Linked DNA regions of Homo sapiens: region 1 is linked to region 2. The links are contacts of gene promoters, found by promoter capture Hi-C in blood cells and fetal thymus (Javierre and others, 2016). All regions are on one chromosome and are shown on one strand. The core of a region is centred on a gene start or on the middle of the fragment in contact, and the rest is flanking DNA. Distances in the headings are between cores, read along the strand shown.

The links. The method cuts DNA at HindIII sites, captures the fragments that hold promoters and counts their contacts. A CHiCAGO score of 5 or more calls a contact.
Region 1: a fragment that was not itself captured here is called in contact with the fragment with the promoter of CPN1 in region 2 in 1 of 17 cell types (naive CD8 T cells); the score reaches 5.4 in naive CD8 T cells.

Annotation. Positions count from the first base shown.
Region 1 is chr10:99,797,963-99,801,467 of GRCh38, forward strand. ABCC2 (ATP binding cassette subfamily C member 2) reads left to right here. Exons shown (of 32, transcript NM_000392.5): 8 at 1,245-1,408; 9 at 2,424-2,601. Among named protein-coding and RNA genes, the nearest start is that of ABCC2, 17 kb to the left of the region's middle. The HindIII fragment of the contact is 2,993 bases long and covers 208-3,200 here.
Region 2 is chr10:100,080,014-100,083,387 of GRCh38, forward strand. It overlaps CPN1 (carboxypeptidase N subunit 1), which reads right to left and starts at 1,856. Exons shown (of 9, transcript NM_001308.3): 1 at 1,390-1,856. The coding sequence starts at 1,612. The HindIII fragment of the contact is 7,883 bases long and covers 1-3,374 here.

The sequences.
Region 1 (3,505 bases), core at 454-2,953, 280 kb before region 2:
GGGGAACACATTTGGCTTGCTCAGGGAATGGCAAGAAGATCCAGGACAGGGTGCGCATGGGGTGAGATGGGCTCAAGGAAGTGGACAGGGATTAAGCTATGTGGACCCCTGTGGGCCACAATAAGGAATCTGGACTTTGTCTGAAGTCTGATTGCCAGCGGAAGATTTTGAGCAGAGGAGTAATGAGACTGGATTCATGCTGTGAAAAGCTTACTTGGGCGGCTCCCCAGAGGATGGATCGTTGTGGGCAAGAATGGAAGCTAGAAGGGAGGCCAGGGCAGTTGTCCTGGCAAGGGAGACCCATCAGATGGGACCTCAGTGAAAGACATTGTGAGAGAGTATCACTGGTAGGCTGAGAAGCTGGAATTTGGGGCAAGATGAGACTCAGGAGGACATAATGAGGAGGCCAAAGCATAGACAGAGGCTGGTGACTGAGTCGTAATGCCCCATGTATTAGTTTCCTAGGGCTGCCATGATAGAGTACCACAACTGGATAGCTTAAAACAGAAATGTACTGTCCCCAGCTCAGGAGGCCAGAAGGCTGAAGTCAAGATATCAGACTCGCTCCCGCTGAAACCTGGAGGGGAAAATCCTCTCTTCCACCTTCTAGTGTTCCCCAGCAATGCTTGGCATTCCTTAACTTCTGGATGCATCACTCTGACCTCTGCCTCCACCATCACAGGACCATCTTCTCTCTGTGTCTGTCTCTTCTCTTCTTGTAAAGATATCAATCATACTGCATTAGGGCCCCAGTGACCTCATCTTAATTTGGTTACATCTGCAAAGACCTTCTTTCGAAATAAGGCACATTTTAAGGTATTGGGGGTTAGGGCTTCAACATAGCTTTTGGGGGTGGGGATACAATTCAACCCATAACATCTCACAGCAACCATGAAAAGAACAAGCATGAAAAGAACAGAAAGGACCTCTCAGCATCATGCCCAGGCCCTTCACTCTCAGGACTGCCCCTCAGGCCCCCACGCAGATGGGTCTCTCTTTTTACATGGGACTCTTACCAGCTTAGTTGCCTGGTTTTCTAATCTAAAATAGATTACAAGTATCAGTTAGGAGCGGGAGAGTGGAACAGTGAAGGCAGCTAGAAGGGCAGAAGCAACTAGGCCAGGGAGAGATGATCAAAACCTGTACAGAGAAGGCCACGGGGCTCACAGGCTGACCACCCTGGAGCTGCTCAGGCCAGTAACAGACATAACTCTGTGGACACTGTTGTTTGGTTTTGTACCTAGGAAGATGTTGAAAAGAAAAAAAAGAAGTCTGGGACCAAAAAAGATGTTCCAAAATCCTGGTTGATGAAGGCTCTGTTCAAAACTTTCTACATGGTGCTCCTGAAATCATTCCTACTGAAGCTAGTGAATGACATCTTCACGTTTGTGAGTCCTCAGCTGCTGAAGTGAGTCTCCAGGCCTCAGATGGTCCTTTCAGGGCCTCCTCTGCCACCCTCCTTTTTGCCACTGTGTATGCAAGCAGGAGCTTTTCTTAAATTCCCATTTTTTAAAAATGCTCGTAATTTTCTTCCACCTTAACCTTACAGCATTGTGTTCATGAAGACCGCAGGCAGTTTTCAAGATGTATGATGATATGTACTTTAGCCTCTCTCTTTTCCATGTCTGTCTCCTCATAGGGGGCCGGGTAATTGTTAGGGGCTGTTTCTTGTTAAACTGCTAAGGGCTGAGCCAGATCCAAGTGGCGGGTAGCATACCCCTGGAGAGTAACTGACTTCATCTCTCCATCGCAGCCTTCCACGGGAGGTTCAGGTTAATCTTGACAAGACTTCACAATCTGTCATGACCTGTGGAGTGAACCACCTGCAGGGAAAGACAGGGCCAAAGCATTGCAGTGACAGCTAGGTGGAGCATTTCTGTCATTATCCATTCTCACAGCCATGGGTTATCAACCCTAAGCTCTTGCTGCTCATCTCCAAGTAAAAGCCAGAACGCCAGGCTGGACATGGTGGCTCATGACTGTAATCTCAGCAGTTTGGGAGATTGAGGCAGGAAGATTGTTTCAGGCCAGGAGTTAGAAACCAGGCTGGTCAACATAACGAGACCCCATCTCTACAAAAGAAAATAGTTAGCTAGATGCGATGGCGTATGCCTGTAGACCCAGCTATTTAGGAGGCTGAGGTGGGAGGATCACCTAAGCCCAGGAGTTCGAGGCTTAATGAACTATGATCCTGCCACTGCACTCCAGCCTGGGCAACAGAGTGAGACCCTGTATCAAAAACAAAACAAAACAGAAAGGACACTGGTAAAACTGTAGACTTAGGTCTTTCAAAGGCTTTGGACAATTCTGGTCACTTTTGTTACCTACAGTGTAAAGATAGTGTAGTCTAGCTGGCTGTGCATGAGGAGAGAGGCATCCTTGGAGGCCTTATGGGTATAACTAACTTGGCTTTTCTCTGGCAGATTGCTGATCTCCTTTGCAAGTGACCGTGACACATATTTGTGGATTGGATATCTCTGTGCAATCCTCTTATTCACTGCGGCTCTCATTCAGTCTTTCTGCCTTCAGTGTTATTTCCAACTGTGCTTCAAGCTGGGTGTAAAAGTACGGACAGCTATCATGGCTTCTGTATATAAGAAGGTAAGCAGAATACGGCAGGTATCACCAAAGAAAATCCCCTCAGTAAATATGAGCATTGATTCCAAGGTTGAGGAAAATGTGATGGAAATGGTAACTTATCTCAACACTTAATGTTGACTGGCCATACAGCCTCCTTTAGATGTTTCTTTGGAAATTAGATTTTGAGAAGTGTGTTCACAGACAATGGGTGGAGAGGCCAGGAGGGAAAACGTACTCCCCAGGGAGAAGCCTGCAAGCTGTTCTGGTGCTCAGGATCCACCTTGCAGCCCTGAAGGCTTGGCTACCCATCCATCTCTTCCTGCCTCTCTTGACAAGGTGAAATGCCTTGGAAAAGAATATAAGGTCAGAAAAGAAGCTGGTGAAGGGTCAAACTCTTAAAACCACCAACATTTAACTCAAATACTTAATGAAATCCAGCTCAGAGACCTGGTGTATCCATCTCAAATTGCAGTCTTGCCGGAGCTCCACCTCCCCAGACCAAATTTCACCTAGCAACTTCTTTTTCTAACCTTTAGTGCTAACCTAAACCTCCTCTGTCTGACTTCTTTTTTCAGTTTGTAAATACATTCATGCTGATTACTGAGTTCTGCAGACCTGGAAGCTTTTTCATTTCCTTAAGATGATTTTGCTCATCTTCCCTCTGATACATTGTTTGTTGTTGTTGTTGTTTTGTTTTGTTTTGGTTGTTTTTGAGATGGAGTCTCGCTCTATCACCGAGGCTGGAGTGCAGTGGTGCAATCTTGGCTCACTGCAACCTCCATCTCCTGGGTTCAAGCGGTTCTCCTGCCTCAGCCTCCCAAGCAGCTGGGACTACAGGCACGTGCCACCACGCCCGGCTAATTTTTTGTATTTTTAGTAGAGATGGGGTTTCACCATGTTAGCCAGGATGGTCTCGATCTCCTGA
Region 2 (3,374 bases), core at 606-3,105:
AGGTGGAGGTTTCAGTGAGCTGAGATTGCACCACTGCATTCCAGCCTGGGCAACAGAGTGAGACTCCATCTCAAAAAAAAAAAAAAATGAAGTTAGAAACCAGTTGGGAGTTCAGTGCAATCATGTAGGCAGCTTGTGATGGAGTCTGGACTTGGGCAGGGGATGTGGAAGCGAAGAGGTAAAGGGAGATTTGAAGTTGAGTTTGAAGGAGGAACTGGTAAGGAAAGAAGTGAGAAATTAGAAACAACTTAAATGTCCATCAATATATGGACAGTTAAACATAGTCATGCAATGAGCTATTACACAGCCAAAACCACAGTGATGTAGATCTGCACTTATAGACATGGATGCTATCCATAACAGATTGTGAAATGAGAAGGGCAGTTATAATACAATTTCATTTTTATAGAAACAATTACATGTGTTTGAGTCAGGGTTTAAATATGCATAGAAAAAAGTCTGGAAGGATATACATCAATACATTAACAGTGGTGGGATTTGGGGTGAGTTTTATTATTTTTTTTCCTTATCTAATCTCTAAATTTTAATCCAAACATGGATTGCTTTTACAGTAGAAACAAACTAAAAAAAGGAATCCAGGCTAAGTGCGGTGGCTCACGCCTGTAATCCCAACACTGGGAGGCCAAGGTGGGTGGATCGCCTGAGCCCAGGAGTTTGAGATTAGCCTGGTTAACATGATGAAACCCTGTCTCTACTAAAAATACAAAAATTAGCCGGGCGTATTGGTGCATGCCTGTGGTCCCAGCTACCTAGGAGGCTGAGGGGAAAGGATCACCTGAGCCCAGGAGGTGGAGGCTGCAGTGAGCTGAGATCATGCCACTGCATTCCAGCCTGGGCAACAGAGCCAGACCCCGTCTCAAAAAAATAAAAAATAAAAAAGAATCCAGTAAATAAAACTGACACCCAAGTCCCCAAACTCTCTCTGGAATACCACACTGTCACTCCCCGAAGAGATTCCCCTATACCCTTCTAAGTTTCCTGGCAGAACTAGAAGGGCTCATTGTTTTTGCCTATGTCTCCTGAGCCATTGGGTGGGGAAAGACAGAACAATAGTAAGGGGAAAAGAAAGGAAATGGGGGAAATGAAGGGATATGGGACATGAGCAGGGAAGAAGACTCATCTTTTACCATTAAAGTTTTGAGCAAACAGAACCCAAAAAGGAGGAAAGATCTGAAGGCTGAAGGAGGGTTATAGCTCCCCAGAGGCAGTGGCAGTTTGAGGGCTAAGAGGGAAATAGCACAGGCTGAGAAAGAGATAATACCTTGTAGGCGGAGGCGTCCACGGACCACCCCAGAAACCACTCCAATTACTGGATTTGCAAGGGAAAGGCCCTGCCCCACACACCCTCAAGAGCTGTTCAGAACTTACAGGGCTCGTGGATTCCAGGGTGGTCGCTGAACTCCAGCACGTAGAGGTGTCTCCCCTCCACGCTGCGCCCAATGCTGTAGACCCGCGTGATGCCGGGGCATTCGTTTTGCACCTTGTACAGCGTCCGCACAAGATCATCATAGCGGTGGTGGCGAAAGGTCACCGGGGCAACCAACTTGAAGAGAAGGAGGAGGTGGAGGAAGACTGAGAGCAGGTCTGACATCTTGCTGGGCTTTTTCAAAGAGAGCCACTGAAACGCGCCCCACCTCCTTAAACAACCTAGCCTCTTCACCCGCCAAAATCCAAGGTCCACCTAGCTTCCCGCTTGTAAACACCAGTCCAAATTGGAAGACGTTCCCAGCTGTCCGTCCAAGGCTGGAAATTCTTTATGTCGTTCTGGAATAGCCACTCATCTCTCCTCCCTCACTCCCTTTCTTTCTCTAATCCAGGAAAGCCTTTTGAAAGGTTTTTTGCACTTCCCCAGATGGGTAGTTTCACTGATTCTGGTTTACTGGTTAACTGGACTGTAAACAGGCTTCAATAAATAGCTGCTTATAACCCTTTGATTCCTGGAGAATTTTTTAAAACTTGGCCTGTGCCTGTTCCTTTTATTACAACTTTCAAAAAGAGTTCTCTGTCCCTTTTGATCCATCCCACGTACTGCTGCCTGCCTATCTTTCTGAAGCATGGCTGTATTTTGTCCTTTTTTTCCTCAAAAATCTTTCAACAGATGCCATTAAGAAAAGGAAAAGATTAGCCTCGGACTGGGAGAAAACAATTGTAAATCATGTATCCGATAATACCCCCATAATACGTAAAGAATCCTTACAATACAATAAGAAAACAAACAACCCAATTAAAACATGGGCAAAACATTTGACCAAAATAGATATACAAATGGCTAATAAGCACATTTAAAGATGTTCAGTGTCATTAGTCATTAAGGAAATACAAATTAAAACCACATGAGATCCAGTCATGGTGGCTCATGCCTATAATCTCAGCACTTTGGGAGGCCAAATTGGGAGGATCACTTGAGCCCAGGAGTTTGAGATCAGCCTGGGCAACATAGCAAGACCCCACCTCTACAAATATTTTTAAAATTAGCTGGGTGTGATGGCATGCCTGTAGTTCCAGCTACTAGGGAGGCTGAGGCAGAGAATCACTTGAACCTGGGTGGTGGGGCCTGAAGTGAGCCATGATCATGCCACTACACTCCAGCCTGGGCAACAGAGTGAGACCTCATCTCAAAAAACAAACAAACAAAAATCACACATGAAATATACTTTACCTCCACTAGAATGGCTACAATAAAAAAGACAGACAATAACAAATGTTGGTGAGAATAGGGAGAAACTGGAACCCTCATAAATAGTGCAGCCAGACCAGGTGCAGTGGCTCATGCCTGTAGCCCAGGACTTTGAGAGGCCGAGGCAGGTGGATCACGAGGTCAAGAGATCGAGATCATCCTGGCAAACATGGCAAAACCCCCTCTCTACTAAAAATACAAAAATTAGCTGGGCATGGTGGCACACGCCTGTAGTCCCAGCTACTCAGGAGTCTGAGGCAGGAGAATTGCTTGAACCTGAGAGGAGGAGGTTGCAGTGAGCTGAGATCACGCCACTGCACTCCAGCTTGGTGACAGAGCGAGACTCCATCTCAAAAAAAATAAAAAATAAAGATAAACAAATAAATAGTACAGCCAGTTTGGAAAACAGTTTAGCAGTTTCTTACAAGGTTAAATATATACTTACTATATAATACAACAGTTTCACTCCTAGGTACCTATGCAAGAGAAATGAAAACACACATCCACACAAAAACTTGTACATAAATGTCCATAGCAGTATTGTTCACAAGAGACAAAAAGTGGAAACAACCCAAATGTCCATTAACCACTGAGCGGATAAACAAAATATGGCATATCCATACAATGAAATAGTATTTGACAATAAAAAGGAGTGGAGTGCTAATATATTGTACAA